Regions from separate parts of the Homo sapiens genome. Here region 2 is linked to region 1. The links are contacts of gene promoters, found by promoter capture Hi-C in blood cells and fetal thymus (Javierre and others, 2016). All regions are on one chromosome and are shown on one strand. The core of a region is centred on a gene start or on the middle of the fragment in contact, and the rest is flanking DNA. Distances in the headings are between cores, read along the strand shown. Region 1 holds the start of MROH9 (maestro heat like repeat family member 9). Region 2 has its middle 11 kb from the start of SCYL3.

The links. The method cuts DNA at HindIII sites, captures the fragments that hold promoters and counts their contacts. A CHiCAGO score of 5 or more calls a contact.
Region 2: a contact is called between a fragment that was not itself captured here and the fragment with the promoter of MROH9 in region 1, in 4 of 17 cell types (M0 macrophages, M1 macrophages, M2 macrophages and 1 more). The highest score is 8.0, in M0 macrophages.

What each region holds. Positions count from the first base shown.
Region 1 is chr1:170,932,100-170,939,756 of GRCh38, reverse strand. It overlaps MROH9 (maestro heat like repeat family member 9), which reads right to left and starts at 4,223. Exons shown (of 22, transcript NM_001163629.2): 1 at 4,170-4,223. RefSeq lists an enhancer at 7,286-7,475. The HindIII fragment of the contact is 7,245 bases long and covers 4,134-7,657 here.
Region 2 is chr1:169,901,126-169,908,782 of GRCh38, reverse strand. No RefSeq gene overlaps it. Among named protein-coding and RNA genes, the nearest start is that of SCYL3, 11 kb to the right of the region's middle. The HindIII fragment of the contact is 5,363 bases long and covers 1,338-6,700 here.

The sequences.
Region 1 (7,657 bases), core at 2,974-5,473:
CATGTGATCTGAGCTGCTTATCATGAACTGGGTGTTATCCAACCCACCAAGCCATAAAGTTGGGTGTGCACGGCAGTACTCCATCATCAAATGGAAGTGATATATATGTGTGATCAGGCCTGAGCAGGTCTTGAAGGCACAAGTAAATTACATAAAGAAATGGCCAAAAGCCAGTGATCCTTCCTCCTACTACACTGCCTTCTCTTTATTAGCCTGCAACTATGGCTTCATGGGGAGTTCCCTATGATCAATTGACAGAGGAAGAAAACAGCCTGGTTTACAGTTGGTTCTACATGATATACAGGCACAACTTGAAAGTGGATGACTGTATCCCTATAGCCCCCTTTTGGGACATCTCTGAAGGACAATGGCCAAGAGAAATACTCCCAGTGGGCAAAACCCCAAGCAGTGCAATCCTCCCTGTAGGCAGAACTTCGAGCACTGAATCTGATTTTTTACTTTGATTGGAAGGAGAAATAGCCAGATGTGTGATTATATACTGATTCATGGGCTGTGCCCAGTGATTTTTCTAGATGGTCAGAAACTTGGAAGGAACATGATTGGAAAATTGATGAAGAAATTTGAGGAAGAGATAAGTGGATAGACATCTCAGAATTAGCAAAAAGTTTGAAGATATTTGTGTTCCCTGTAAATATTCACCAAAGGGCAATCTCTGCTGAGGATTATTTAATAATCAAGCAGATAGGATGACCCATTCTGTAGGTACCAATTAGGCTATTTCTTCAGCCACTAGTGTCATCACCCAATAGGCTCATGAGCAAAGTAGCCATAGTGTCAGGGATGTAAATTATGTATGGGTCCAGCAACATGGACTTTTATTTGTCAAGGACAACCTAGCTGTGGCCACTACCGAGTGGCCAATATGCCAGTAGCAGAGAAAAACACTGAGTCCTTGATGTGGCCCAGAGTGATCAGCCAGCTACCTGGTGGCAGCTTGACTACATTGGACTGCGTCCATCATAGAAGAGGAAGCATTTTGTCCTTACTGAAATAGACACTTACCCTGGATATGGATTTGCCGTCCAGGTATGCAATGCTTCTGCCAAAACTGCCATTTGTGGACTTATAGAATGCCTTATCCACCATCATGTTATTCCACACAGCATTGCTTCTGATCAAGGAACTCACTTCACAGCCAAAGAAGTGGGGCAATTGGCTTATGCTCATGGAATTCACTAGTCTTACCATGTTCCCCACCATCCTAAAGCCACTTGTTTGATGGAACGGTGGAATGACCTTTTGAAGACTCAGTTACGTCATCAGCTAGATGTCAATACCTGGAAGGGCTGGGGCAAGGTTCTCCGGAAAACTGAATATGCTCTGAATATGTTCAATTTATAGTGCTATTTCTCCTATAACCAGGATTCCTGGGTCTAGGGATCAAGGGGTGAAAATAGAGTTGCACCACTCACTATTATCCTTAGTGTCCCACTAGCTTCCTGTTCTTGTGGCATTATGCTCTGCTGGCTTAGAGATCTCAGTTCTGGAGGGAAGAATTCTTCCATCAGGGGACACGACAATAATTCCACTGAACTGGAAGTTAAGACTGCCACCTGGCCACCTTGGTCTCCTTGTGCTTCTGAGTCAACAGGCTAAGAAGGGAGTTATGGTGCTGGTTGGACTGACTGATCCACACTACCAAAGAGAACTTGGGCTACTATTCCATAATGGAGGCAAGGAAGAGTATGTCTGCAATACAAAAGATCCCTTAGTGTGTCTCTTAGTATTACTGTGTCCTGTGATTAAGATCAATGGAAAACTACAACCACCCAGTGCAGGTAGGACTACTAGTGACCCAGACCTTTATGGATCACTTTAGCAGGTAAAGAACCACAAGCAGCTGAGGTGCTTACTGAAGGCAAAGAAACTACAGAATGTGTAGTAGAAAAAGGGAGTTAAAAATACTGATTATGGGCCGGGCGCGGTGGCTCACGCCTGTAATCCCAGCACTTTGGGAGGCCGAGGCGGGCGGATCACGAGGTCAGGAGATCGAGACCATCCCGGCTAAAACGGTGAAACCCCGTCTCTACTAAAAATACAAAAAAAATTAGCCGGGCGTAGTGGCGGGCGCCTGTAGTCCCAGCTACTTGGGAGGCTGAGGCAGGAGAATGGCGTGAACCCGGGAGGCGGAGCTTGCAGTGAGCCGAGATCCCGCCACTGCACTCCAGCCTGGGCGACAGAGCGAGACTCCGTCTCAAAAAAAAAAAAAAAAAAAAAAAATACTGATTATGATGCTGTGATCAGTGCAGAAATGAAGACTGTAATAATTATGAGTATTTCCTTTTAATTTTGTTCTGAATACATTTCTTTGTGTATATATTAGATACCAAATATTTTTTCTTTTCTTATTCTCTTATCACATAATACAAAATGCAATGACTTCATATTCTAGTATTTAAGTATTGTTAATGTTACATCATAGTGTTTAAGTTACAGGACATCAAGGAAGAGAGTAAACATCACTGAAGGACTTTATCTCCTCCTCTGAGAAGGGTTTAGTGCATTTTCAGTTGTATGCAGGACATATGTTGGAACAGGAATTAAAAGAAATTAAAGAATGTGTAAGCAGAAACTCAGTTGTATGTAAGAAAACCCAATTCCCCAGAGAAAGAGAAAGAGCTGGAGTCCTTTAAAATTAACTGCCTGTTTTTCTGTGGCTAGTGAGCCTTATCTCTCCTCCTTTCCCAGGCATTGTGAAGACCCTGTTTCTCTAGCTGTGCAGCTGCAAGGTCACTAGACAGATAAACTCAAGTCATAAAACATGTTTTTCCTTGAAAAGTAAGAAATGATGTAATGCATGTTTCAATTAATTGAATAACTGTCTTTGTTTCTCACTTCTGTAATATGCTTCCCCCTACACAGATCTCCCCCACCCCACGAAATGATTAAAAGATAACTCTTTGTTCAGGGCTCAGTCCTTTGGAGGTTAATCCAACTGGGCCGGTGCACCTAAATAATAAATATCCTTCTCAACCCCATCGGTCTCTCTGATTCCTTATCAATCCCACTACATTTCAACATGTTAAATGGAATTATGAGCTTCTTATTGACTTTATTTGGAGATTAACTATGGCTTAAGGATATGTATATGGGTGCCAAATTTTCAACGTGGGAACTCATTATGGTTAGTTAATATTACGTGTCAAACTGAGTGAGCCATAGGATGCCCAGATATCTGGTAAACATTATTTTGGGGTATGTCTGTGAGGGTATTTCCAGAAGAGATTAGCATTTAAATTGGTGTTCTGATGATAGGAGATGACACTCCCTAATGTGGGTCAACATCTTCCAATCCATTGAGGGCCTGAATAAAACAAGAAGGCAGAAGAATGCTTAGTTTTCTCTTTGCCTGACTACTTGACTTGGGACACAAATCTGCTGCCCTCGGTGCTCTGGTTCTCAGATCCTCAGAACCAGGCTGGAATTTTTATCATCAACTCTCTTGCTCTCAGGCCTTCAAACTGCACCATTGGATCTCCTGGGTCTCTGTCTTGCAGAAAGCAGAATCCAGGACTTCCTAGCTTCTATTATTGTGTAAACCAATACCTTATAATAAATATATTTATCTATATAGTTGTGGTTTCTCTCATCCTTACTAATAAGATAATCCTTACTAGTAAGGCATGAAGTTAGGAGATTAATGAATAAAGACAAATTCTTCCAATTGCCAACTTTGGCAAGATTTCTGGATGAGGGCCCATAGTAATGTAATTTTCTTTTTCTTTTCTTTTTTTTTTTTTTTTTTTTTTTTTTGTCTCACTCTGTTGCCAGGCTGGAGTGCAGTAGCATGATCTCGGCTCACTGCAACCTCCACCTCCCGAGTTCAAGTGATTCTCCTGCCTCAGCCTCCTGAGTAGCTGGGATTACAGGCACCCGCCACCACACCCAGCTAATTTTTGTATTTTTAGTAGAGATGGGGTTTCACCAAGTTGCCTAGGGTGGTCTCGACCTCCTGACCTCATGATCCGCCCACAGCCTCCCAAAGTGCTGGGATTACAGGTGTGAGCCACCATACCTGGGCCATAACGTAATTTTCTAATGTATTCATGGTTCTTTTTCTTAACAGAACAAAAATTAAGAAAAGTAGTCAGGATTAGAAAAAAAGACAAGCTTTTGAATGACAGAAATATTAATAGGAATTCACTTACATATTTGTAACTTCTCTGTAATCACGGTGAGACAAAGTAGTGAAGAGAAACTCTAGTATATTACCTCTTAGCCAAAGGTAAAATACTCTAGGTAGTTATCAACCAAGCAAATTCTTTGAAATGTTGACACTCGTCATGGCAACCATATGTTTCAAAGATTCCATTCTGGAATGAATGTGGTAGAATGTCCTGGCATGCCCAAGTGGCTACTAATGCTCACCTGTCATTATTGAGGGGTGGGTAAGTTTCTGGTTTCTATGTTACAAGCACTGAAAGATAGTTCTTCAGACCAACAGTCCAGTAGAAGCTGGGCAAAGGATAAGAATAGAAAATTCACAGAAAAGGAAAACTGAATGGCCAATAAATATTTTAAAAGATTTTTAATCTCACTTGAAGTTATGAAAATACAAACCATTAAAATATTATTTCCCAGCTAATAAGTTAAAAAGTACTAAAATACAAGTAAAAATTAAAAAAAGATAATTTCAAATATTGGCAAAGATAAAAGAAAGTTGAACTTTCTCACACGACTGGTGGGATTATAAATGGATATAACTAGTTTGTAGAGAAACTTGTCAAGTTCTAGCAAAACTGAAAATCTACAACCCAGAATTTCCAGTTCTAGGTCCATAGAGTGTATAAACATGTATACAACTGATGCACTGAGAGACATGAAGGATGTTTATTGTAGCACTTTTTATAATAGAGTTATTAAAATATAATTCACATACCATAAAATTTATCTTAAAGTATATAATTCAATCATTTTAAATATATTTACAGAGGTATACAACCATCATTACTATCTAATTTTAGAACATTTTCATTTAGAACAAGCTCCAAAGAAACCCTGTACCTGTTAGCAGACATTCACCCTCCCTCTCCCCCAAGTACCTGGCAACCACTAATCTTCTGTCTGCCTTCTGGACATTTTATGTAAATAGATTTATACAATATGTGACTTTTTATGATTAGACTGTTTGGATTTTTATTACTGAGTTGTGATTTTTTAATATGTTCTAGATGCTAGTCTCTTATCAGATACATAATTTGCAAATATTCCTCCTTTTCTATGGGCTGCCTTTACATTTTCTTGACAGTGTCTCTTGAAGCACAAAAGTTTTAAATTTAAGTGAAATTTAAATTTGCCATTCTTTTTCTTTTATTGCTTGTGTTTTTGGTATCATAACTAAAAAAAAAGAAAAAGACATTGCCTGCATTCCCTGGCCCAACTTCACAGAGATTAGATTTAGAACTTTTCTAAGAGTTTTGTAGTTTTTGCCTTACATTTAGGTCTTTGGTTCATTCTGAATTAGTTTTAGTATATAGTGTGAGGTAGAGGTCTAATTTTATCTTATTTTTTGCATCTGGATATTCACTTGTCTCAGTACAATTTGTTAAAAAGATGATTCTTTTCCTGATTGTCTCCACATCTTTGTAAAAAATGAATTGACTAAAATGGTTTATTTCTGAACTCAATTTTATCCCATTAATCTATATGTTTTTCCTATACTGGTAGCACACTGTGGTGATTTCTGTGTCTTTGTAGTAAGTTTTGAAATCAAGAAGTGTGAATTTTCAAACTTTGTTTGTTCTAGGGTCACAATTATAACATTAGCCTAAAACAATGTAGTTTGAATTAATATCAATTTAGTTTCAATAACATACAAAGGTTTTGCTCCAGTATACCTGGTTTCCTCCTTCATTTTTTCTGCTATTATTGCCATGCACATTATATATATTCATGTTATACATACATATATTTAAACATTATAATCCCACCAACCCAGTTTTATAATTATTGCTTTAAGCTGTTTTCTTTTAAACATAATAGGAGAACAAAACCAAATAATTTTATTCTACCTCTGTAGTTTATGAGTGTGCTCTCTGTGTAGACTTGAGTGACTAGCTAGTATTCTTTTATTTCAGCGTGAGACAATATCTTCAGTATTTCTGGTAGGGCAGATCTGCTAGAAAAACAATCTTACTTTATTTGTGAATACTTAATTTTTCCTTTCTTTCTTTCCCTTCCTTCCTTTCTTTCTCTTTTCTTTCTTTCTTTCTTTCTTTCTTTCTTTCTTTCTTTTTTTTTGAAGGATAGTTTGGTCAAATATAGAATTCTCAGTTGGTAATTTTCTTTTTCTTTTTTGAGACGGAGTCTTGCTCTGTCATCCAGGCTGGAGTGCAGTGGCGCAATCTCGGCTCATTGCAAGCTCCACCTCCCAGGTTCACACAATTCTCCTGCCTCAGCCTCCTGAGTAGCTGGGACTACAGGTGCGTGCCACCACAGTGGCTAATTTTTTTGTATTTTCAGTAGAGACGGGGTTTCACCGTGTTAGCCAGGATGGTCTCGATCTCCTGACCTCGTAATCCACCCGCCTTGGCCTCCCAAATTGCTGGGATTACAGGTGTGAGCCACTGCACCTGGCCCAGTAATTTTTTTTATGGTTCTTTGTTGTCATCTGACTTCCTTCTAGCCCCCTTCTTCTCTGTCTTCCTCCTGCTTTGGCCATGTAAGATGAACCTGCTTCCCCTTCAGCCATGATTGAAAGTTTCCTGAGGCCTCCCCAGCCATGCTTTCTGTACAACATGTGGAACAGTGAGCCAGTTAAACCTTGTTTCTTTATAAATTACCCAGTCTCAGATATTTATTTAAAGCAGTGTGAGAACAGACTACTACAGAAAATTAGTACCTAGGAGTGGTGCATTGCTATAAAGATACCTGAAAATGTGGAAGCAGCTTTGGAACAGGGTAATGGGCAGAGATTGGAACAGTTTGGTTGGCTCAGAAGAAAACAGAAAGATGAGAGAAAGTTTGGAACATCCTAGAGACTTGAATGGTTTTGACCAAATTGCTGACAGTGGGGCAGAGATGGCCAGGCTGATGAGGTCTCAGATGGACATGAGGAACTTATTGGGAAGTTTGAACTTGAGAGTGATGATTTAGGGAATTTGGTGCAAGAAATTTCTAAGCAGCAAAACATTTAAGATGTGACCTGGCTGCTTCTAACAATATATGCCCACATGCCTAAGCAAAGAGATGGTCCGAAACTGGAACTTAAAAAGGGAAGCGGAGCATAAAAATTTGCAGCCTGACCATGTGGTGCAAAAGAAAAACCAATTTTCTGGGGAGGAGTTCAAGCCAGCTGCAGAAATTTGCATAAGTAAAGAGAAACCAAATGTTAATAGCCAAGACAATGAGGGAAATGCCATAAAGGTACTTGAGAGAACTTCAGGGCAGTCCCTCCCATTACAGGCTGGAGTCCTAGGAAAGAAGAACGGTCTTAAGGGCCAGGCTTGGGGCCCCACTGCCCTTGGGACACTGCTTCTTGTGTCCCAGCTGTTACAGCTCCCACTGTGGCTAAAACAGCCCCAGGTACATCTCAGGCCACTGTTTCAAAATATGCAAGCCATAAGCCTTGCTGGCTTCCACATGGTGTTAAGCATGCAGGTGCACAGGGGACAAGGGTTAAGGCTTGGGAGCCAAT
Region 2 (7,657 bases), core at 2,770-5,269, 1.0 Mb after region 1:
ATGAAGTCTCCCTCTGTCACCCAAGCTGGAGTGCAGTGGCGCAATCTTGGCTCACTGCAAGCTCCGCCTCCTGGGTTCAAGCGATTCTCCTGCCTCACCCTCCCAAAGTAGCTGGGACTACAGGTGCGTACCACCACACCTAGCTGTACTACTTCCATTTCTTTAATGCAAGTCTCTCTCTGAGTAATCAGGCCTCTAGTCCTGCAAAATAAGTGTTTGACACTAATAGAAGGTATTTATTCTAGCCTAAATAGCTATCCTCTCCTATCAGACAAGCTCATTTCCTCATTGGAGGGAAAACTCCTAGCAATGCTTCTTCTTTGCCTTGGGAATATATCCATTGAGTCCCATCAGCTAGAGGAAGGAGAAGAAAAACTGAATGCAATTAGGGACCCCACAAGCCTTTCTGAAAAGTAATTTTCCTCTTCTGCATCTGGTTGTGTACCATCACTTGATGCAGTATGGAAGTGCCTCAGATTCTCTCCAAGTGGTTGGAGTACCCTCTTTATATTCTTCATTTAATTCCCTAATCTATTGGATTCAGAGATGGAAATAACCCCTATTGTCCCAGTTTTCCTTTTTATAGGCTTGTGGTTCAAGTTAGAGCATCTATTTCATATATTTATAAACCTCTCCCTCATCAAGTTGGTATCTACATACATCAGCAGGGCTTTCTATAGTTACTTTTCCCAAGCTGGGTTTACACTAATTATCGAGGCATTTTGTTTCCATCTATGTGACCATATAGTCAGCCCATCAGCCGCAGCCCACCAATCACCTGGCTTCTTGTACTGTCTGCATTGAAACTACCTGGAGCTAAATATATTGTGCCAATTTGCTTGGTCCTTCTTTTCTGAGGGCATGTAGGTGGGAAGGCAGAGCCTAGCATTTAACTTTATTTCAGGTTATGGTGGCATTGCTATCCGTGACGCACTAGTAGTCTTTGTGTTTCCACTGTAAATCCTACCAGGGTATTTTCCTCTTATCACAGGTTCCCCTTTGATCTCAGTTGACACAGCCATCCTTCAGAATAGTGGAGGCCCAGTGTCTGCCATGCCGCCTTCTTGTGAGTGTAATATTTTGGCCCCTTCCTTAAAGTACGATTGATATTTTAATTCGCTCCAGATCTGAGCCATCACTCTGGACTGTTCGCAGTTTAATCTGTTTCAAAATATAGTTAGAAGCTTTGTTGCTACGATGTAGGCACCAGACCCATAAGACCTTCCAACTCAAGTAGCTCCAACTGGACCAAAAGTGGTTGTTTTTCTAAGGGCATAAATTTGTTTGTATCCCCTGGAATCCCTTACATCAAAATCCCACTGGTGGCTCCTGAAGCTTTCCTGACCTGATAGGGATCATCCACAGATCTAAGATCCAGAATCCAGTAAGTAATGCCACTAAAGAAAATTCTGAGACTAATGGGGGCACCTCTTTTTAATTGGGCTTGTATCAGTCAGAGTTTGATCAGAAAAACAGAACCACTATGAGTGATATAGCATATGGAATTTATTACAGGATTACCTCTTGTACAATTATAGCACCATTGTATAATATGAAACTATTCAAAGGAAGTAAAAATGAGCTCTAAGGAACATTCCCTGGCCCTAGAGTAAAGGGAACTGGCACATGTTCCTGGCACCATTTCAGATTTTCTATGAACCCAAGATGACTACACATCTCTGTTTCCATGGGAGTATCCTTTGTGGTTATTGTGTCCATCTCACTGTTGCATGTTGGGTAAGGGTGGAGAGTTCAAGATGGCAGGTACCTTCTTTCAGTCCACAGGTTCTAGATCAAGAAGAGCCATACTAGAAGAGAACCTGAACACCACTCCCAAAGAGCCTCATCCATGCCTGGATGTGATTTTGATGATGAGATCCTACACTTTAAACCAGAGCCTAATGCCATAACGATAGGAGGTTTTTGGCAGAGGAGGTAAGCATATTTTGCTTGTGGATGGGATGTAAATAACTGTGGCAGAAGGAGATATGTAACTAAAAAAGGTGACCATGGTATTCTCCAGCTCCTCTCATCAAAAGATGGACTCTATTTCCTCACTTTTTGAAACTGGGCTTCCCTTGTATCTCACTTCTACCAATAGAATGAGACAGAAATGATGAGTGAGTTCTTACAGGTTCAGCTCTTTTTCCTTCTTCTCTACAATTTACTACTGTTTCAAGTCTGCTGTGTAATCAGCACTGCACTAGTACATGAATATGAAGCTGAACCCCTCAGATTATATCTATTACAGCTTGCACCAGGTGGGACATGGAGCTGCCCACTAAGGCTTAGACTCCAGGAGGGTGAGTCAAGGAAACATCACCTTTTGGTTAGCTTAACTGTCAGGGTTTTTTCTTTTTTCTTTTATTTTTTTTTTACCAGAAGCAGAAATACTTTTTATTCTTTTAAAAATGTTTGTTATTTTTATTTTTTATTATACTTTAAGTTCTAGGGTACATGTGCACAACATGCAAGTTCATTACATATGTATACATGTGCCATGTTGGTGTGCTGCACCCATCAACTCGTCATTTACATTAGGTATATCTCTAATGCTATCCCTCCCACCTCCTCTCACCCCACAACAGGCCCCGGTGTGTAATGTTCCCCTTCCTGTGTCCAAGTGTTCTCATTGTTCAATTCCCACCTGTGAGTGAGAACATGCAGTGTTTGGTTTTCTGTCCTTGCGATAGTTTGCTCAGAATGATGGTTTCCAGCTTCCTCCATGTCCCTACAAAGGACATGATCTCATCCTTTTTTATGGCTGCATAGTATTCCATGGTGTATATGTGCCACATTTTCTTAATCCAGTCTATCATTGTTGGACATTTGGGTTGGTTCCAAGTCTTTGCTATTGTGAATAGTGCTTCAATAAACATATGTGTGCATGTGTCTTTATTGTAGAATGATTTATAATCCTTTGGGTATATACCCAGTAATGGGATGGCTGGGTCAAATGGTATTTCTAGTTCTAGATCCTTGAGGAATCGCCACACTGTCTTCCACAATGGTTGAACTAGTTTGCAGTCCCACCAACGGTGTAAAACTGTTCCTATTTCTCCACATCCTCTCCAGCACCTGTTGTTTCTTGACTTTTTAATGATCACCATTCTAAGAGCTTCTTTATTTCCAGTCCTGGGCTGAAGGAATCTTATTGTTGTGTTCCAGCTTTATTGAGATATAATGGACAGATTAAAAATTGTATGTATTCAAGGTGTACACTGTGATGACTTGATAGATGGATACATTGTGAAATGATTATCATAGCCAGGCACGGTGGCTCACAGCTGTAATCCTAGCACTTTGGGAGGCCGAGGTGGGGGGATCACTTGAGCCCAGGAGTTCAAGACCAGCCTGGGCAGCAAAGAGAGATCTCATCTCTACTAAAATTCTAGAAAAAATTGGCTGGGCATGGTGGTGCATGCCTGTAGTCCCAGCTAGTTGGGGGTGGGGAGAACGTGAGGGGTGCTGAGTTGGGAGGATCGCTTGAATCTGGGAGGTTGAGGCTGCTGCGAGTCCTGATTGCACCACAGCACTGCAGTCCAGGTGACAGAGTGAGGCTTTGTCTTTAAAAAAAAAAAAAAAAAAAAAAAGATTATCATCACCACAATTAGTTACTATTTGTGTGTATGTGGGGTGAGGAAGGGGGAAGCCACTTAAAATCCACTGTCTCCAAATGTCAAGTATACAATGCAGTATTAGTAAGTGTAATCAGTGTGTTGTATGTTAGATCCCCAGAGCTTAGTCATCTTAAACTGAAAGTCTATACCCTTTGTCCAGCATCTCCCAATTTCCCCCACCCCACAGCTTCTGGCAACCACCTGCTACTCTCTGCAAAGGCATCAGTTTTAATTTGGTGATTTTGAAAAGGAGAACCACACAAGTTTGGAGGGTTCATACAAACTCCAGAAATGGAGTGAAATAGTTAAGAAAGGGACGCTGAGCCTGTGTTAGTCCATTCCCACATTGCTAGAAAGAACAACCTGAGACAGGGTAATTTATGAAGAAAAGAGGTTTAATTGATTCACAGTTCCACAGGCTGTATAGCAAGCATGGCTGGGGCATCCTCAGGAAACTTAAAGTCATGGTGGAAGGGCGAAGGGGAAGCAAGCACCTTCTTCACATGATGGAGCAGGAAAGAAAGAGAGCAGGGGTAGGTGCTACACACACACTTTTAAACAACCAGATCTTATGAGAACTCAGTATCACCAGGAGAACACAGGGGAAATCCACCCCTATGATCCAGTCACCTCCCACCAGGTCCCTCCCCCAACACTGGGAATTAGAATTTGACAGGCGATTTGGGTGGGGACACAGAGCCAAACCACATCAGGGCCTATCAATCATTTCTCACTGAAATTACCAAGTCTAGCTACTTGTTTTTATTTTTTAACATTTCTAATGTCTTTATGAGTATCCTCAATTTTTAGTTTTCTCAAATTTGACTTTTAATAACACAGAATATGTTATAAGGCACATGCTGTTGATAGAGTTCCACTTTGTTTCAACTGTTAATGACTTGATGAATGTGATATTCATCTCCCTTCATGTGTACCTGTGTACATGCTCGTACACAGTGATATGGTTTGGCTCTGTGTCCCCACCCAAATCTCATGTTGAAGTATGACCCTCAGTGTTGGAGGTGGGACCTAGTGGGAGGTGACTGGATCATGGAGGTGGTTTGTAATGATGTAGCGCCATCCCCCTAGTGCTGTCTCGTGACAGAGTTCTCATGAGATCTGGCTGTTTAAAAGTCTGTAGGGTCTCCCCTTTCACTCTTTTCCTCCTGCTTCTGACATGTAAGATGTGCTTGCTTCCCCTTCACCTTCTGCCATCATTTTAAGTCACCTGAGGCCTCCCCAGAAGCAGAAGCCTGTACAACCCACGGAACCATAAGCCAATTAAACTTCCTTTGTTTATAAATTACCTAGTCTCAGGTATGTTTTTATAGCTGAGCAAGAATGGACTAATACACATAGCATGGTCTTTTTTTTTAATTGAGAAATAATACAGATACCATAAAAGTACCTTTTTAAAATTTACATTTAAAATGTACTTTAAAAATATAATTTAGTGGATTTTAGTATATTCTAAAGGTTGCACAACCATCACCATTATCCAGTTCCCAGAATGCTTTCATCACTCCAAAAGGAAACCTCCTACCCATTAGCAGTCATGCCCCCATTCCTCCTTACCCCCAGCCCCTAGCAACCATGTATCTGCTTTCTTTCTGTGTGGATTTATCTAACCTGGACATTTCATATAAATGCACTCAAACAATGTGTGGCTTTTTGTGCCTGGATTCTTCCACTTAACATGATGTTTTCACAGCATCCATGTTGTCACACGTATGAAAACTTTATCCCTTCCAATGGCCAAATAATATTCCATTGTTTGGAATACATTTTGTTCAGCCATTCATTGGTCCAGGCATTTTTTAGGCGGCAATAAAAGTACTCAAAATGAAGACACAGCAAAGCTCCAAATGCACACATCTACCCAGCAGACAAGTGACTTCACTGTCTACTATCACGGGGAGCAGAAAGAGTGCCCTGAATTGAGCTCCCCTCTGAGACCTAACCAAATGCACACCTGGCCCAACCTTTGTCTGGAGAGTTAATTTTGTGGTACCAATTTCTGTTTTAGTTTTTCTCTCTAAAATAACTTTATTAGTGTAATCACATTTTCATGTAATTCCTAATTACCCTTCTTGGTCTGAATTCCTATTATTAAAATGCCGTGTTTACACACTTGGTTTAGGGCTACTCTGATTTCAGCACATCACTACCGGATTTCCTTTAGCTGTTTCTTGGTTTCCTATTTCTTGCAGAAGATAAAAAAGACAAATAAGCCCTTCCTCTTCCTCCGCACCTCTCTTATCAAAAATGGTGAGAAGATAGCAGTGGTGCTATTCCTTGTGTTTTGGGAACACACGTGTCTTTGCCACTTGGTTGTACACACCGTAGTGGCTTTTACTGCTGCTAATGTCACTGGATCAATAAATTCATTCCTAATGAACTCCATTTAGATTCCATACAGTGAGAGGCAAAGTTAGGAAAAAAAGTAAATGAAAAAATTCAAAAGATTGGTGAGAAAACAATTGCTGTGAGAAAAGAGGAAAATAATTTTTTAAGAAACTAGTATCAAAATTGAGGGCAAAAGTTTTCAGAGGAGGTCTAAAATCACTGGGATTTGTTTTACTCATTTTTAATATACTTGCTGATGATGGAACAGACATTGCACTGAATCCCTTTGTCCCATAAGCAGTAAGTTCCCCGATCTAGCTGCTTCTTCCTTGAGGTAGAACTGAGACTGGGGTGGGTGTTTGTTTGCAGGGAGGAGGGGAGAGACTCAGGAGAGATGGCAGCCCTGAGAAAGACTTGGAATAGTACAGTGAGCAACAGGGAATTTTTTTTTTTTTTTAAGGAAACAGAGCAAATGGTTTTTATGTTGTCCTGAGCTGGAAGCACAGCTTTGGAGAGGACTGAGAAACTAGCTAAAGATCATAAGTTACTGTTTCTTGGCATAAATTTGTAAAGTTAACTGCCATCTATACCTTATCAGGAAATGTGACCATGCCGTATCCCCTCCTGTTTCCTACCAATGCTTTGGAGCTACTATCACAAGACCCTCAAGATTGTTATCATATGAGGAATTACAGGCTACGGGCACTGTTTTATAGATGTAAGACTCAAAAGCTTCCAATTTAAGTGTAGGAGACTAGAATATGCCCAAAATATGCCTCCTTGGCATAAGGATTATTTTCAGCTGAAGGCAATTGAGAAGGAGCAGATATTTTTAAAAAGTTCTCTATCCTACTCCTACTTCCCTCAAAACAAGATATAAATTTACAAAAGTATTCCTTCTCCCCTCTCCACTAGGAAACACAAAGTTTGATCACTAAAGGCAGCTTCTGTCAACACTAGAAGAACCTACATTAAAAACTTCCATTTATTTGCCTTACCATGGTTTGCCATCCTTTCTTCTGTCTTATTTCTCTAAGAGTTTATTCTTCTTTGTTGAAGATGCCATATATGCCTGAGTTCTAAGCCACCTCTTTGAGTATCTCCTATGTGTATATGAAATACACATGAATAAACTTCTGTTTGTTTTACTCTTCTCAATCTTTGTTATAGGGGCCCCAGACAATGAAATTAAGAGGGGGAAAAGGAACGATTATTTTTCCTCCTTTATACAACTTTACATTCAGTTCCTCATCTCTTTATTAAATTATCTTTAAAATTACAAAAATACATGCATGTAATCCCGGCACTTTGGGAAGTTGAAGCAGGAGGCAAGGTGTTCAAGACCAGCCTGGGCAACACAGCAAAACCCTGTCTCTACAAAAAATAATTTAAAAAATGTATCTGGATGTGGTGGCACATGCCTGTAATCCTTGCTGCTTGAGGGGCTGGGATGGGAGGACTGCTTGAGGCCAAGAGTTCAAAGTTATAATGAGCTATGATTGCACCATTGTACTTCACCCTGGGTGACAGAGCCTGGACTCTGTCTCTTAAACAAATAAACAAAAACAATGTAGGCTCACTGTAACACATAAAACAATATGCAGATATATAAAAAGGTATATAAAGAAAGTAACCTCTCCCTACCTTACATGGTGAATGTTAACAGACTAGTATATATTTTTCTATACTTC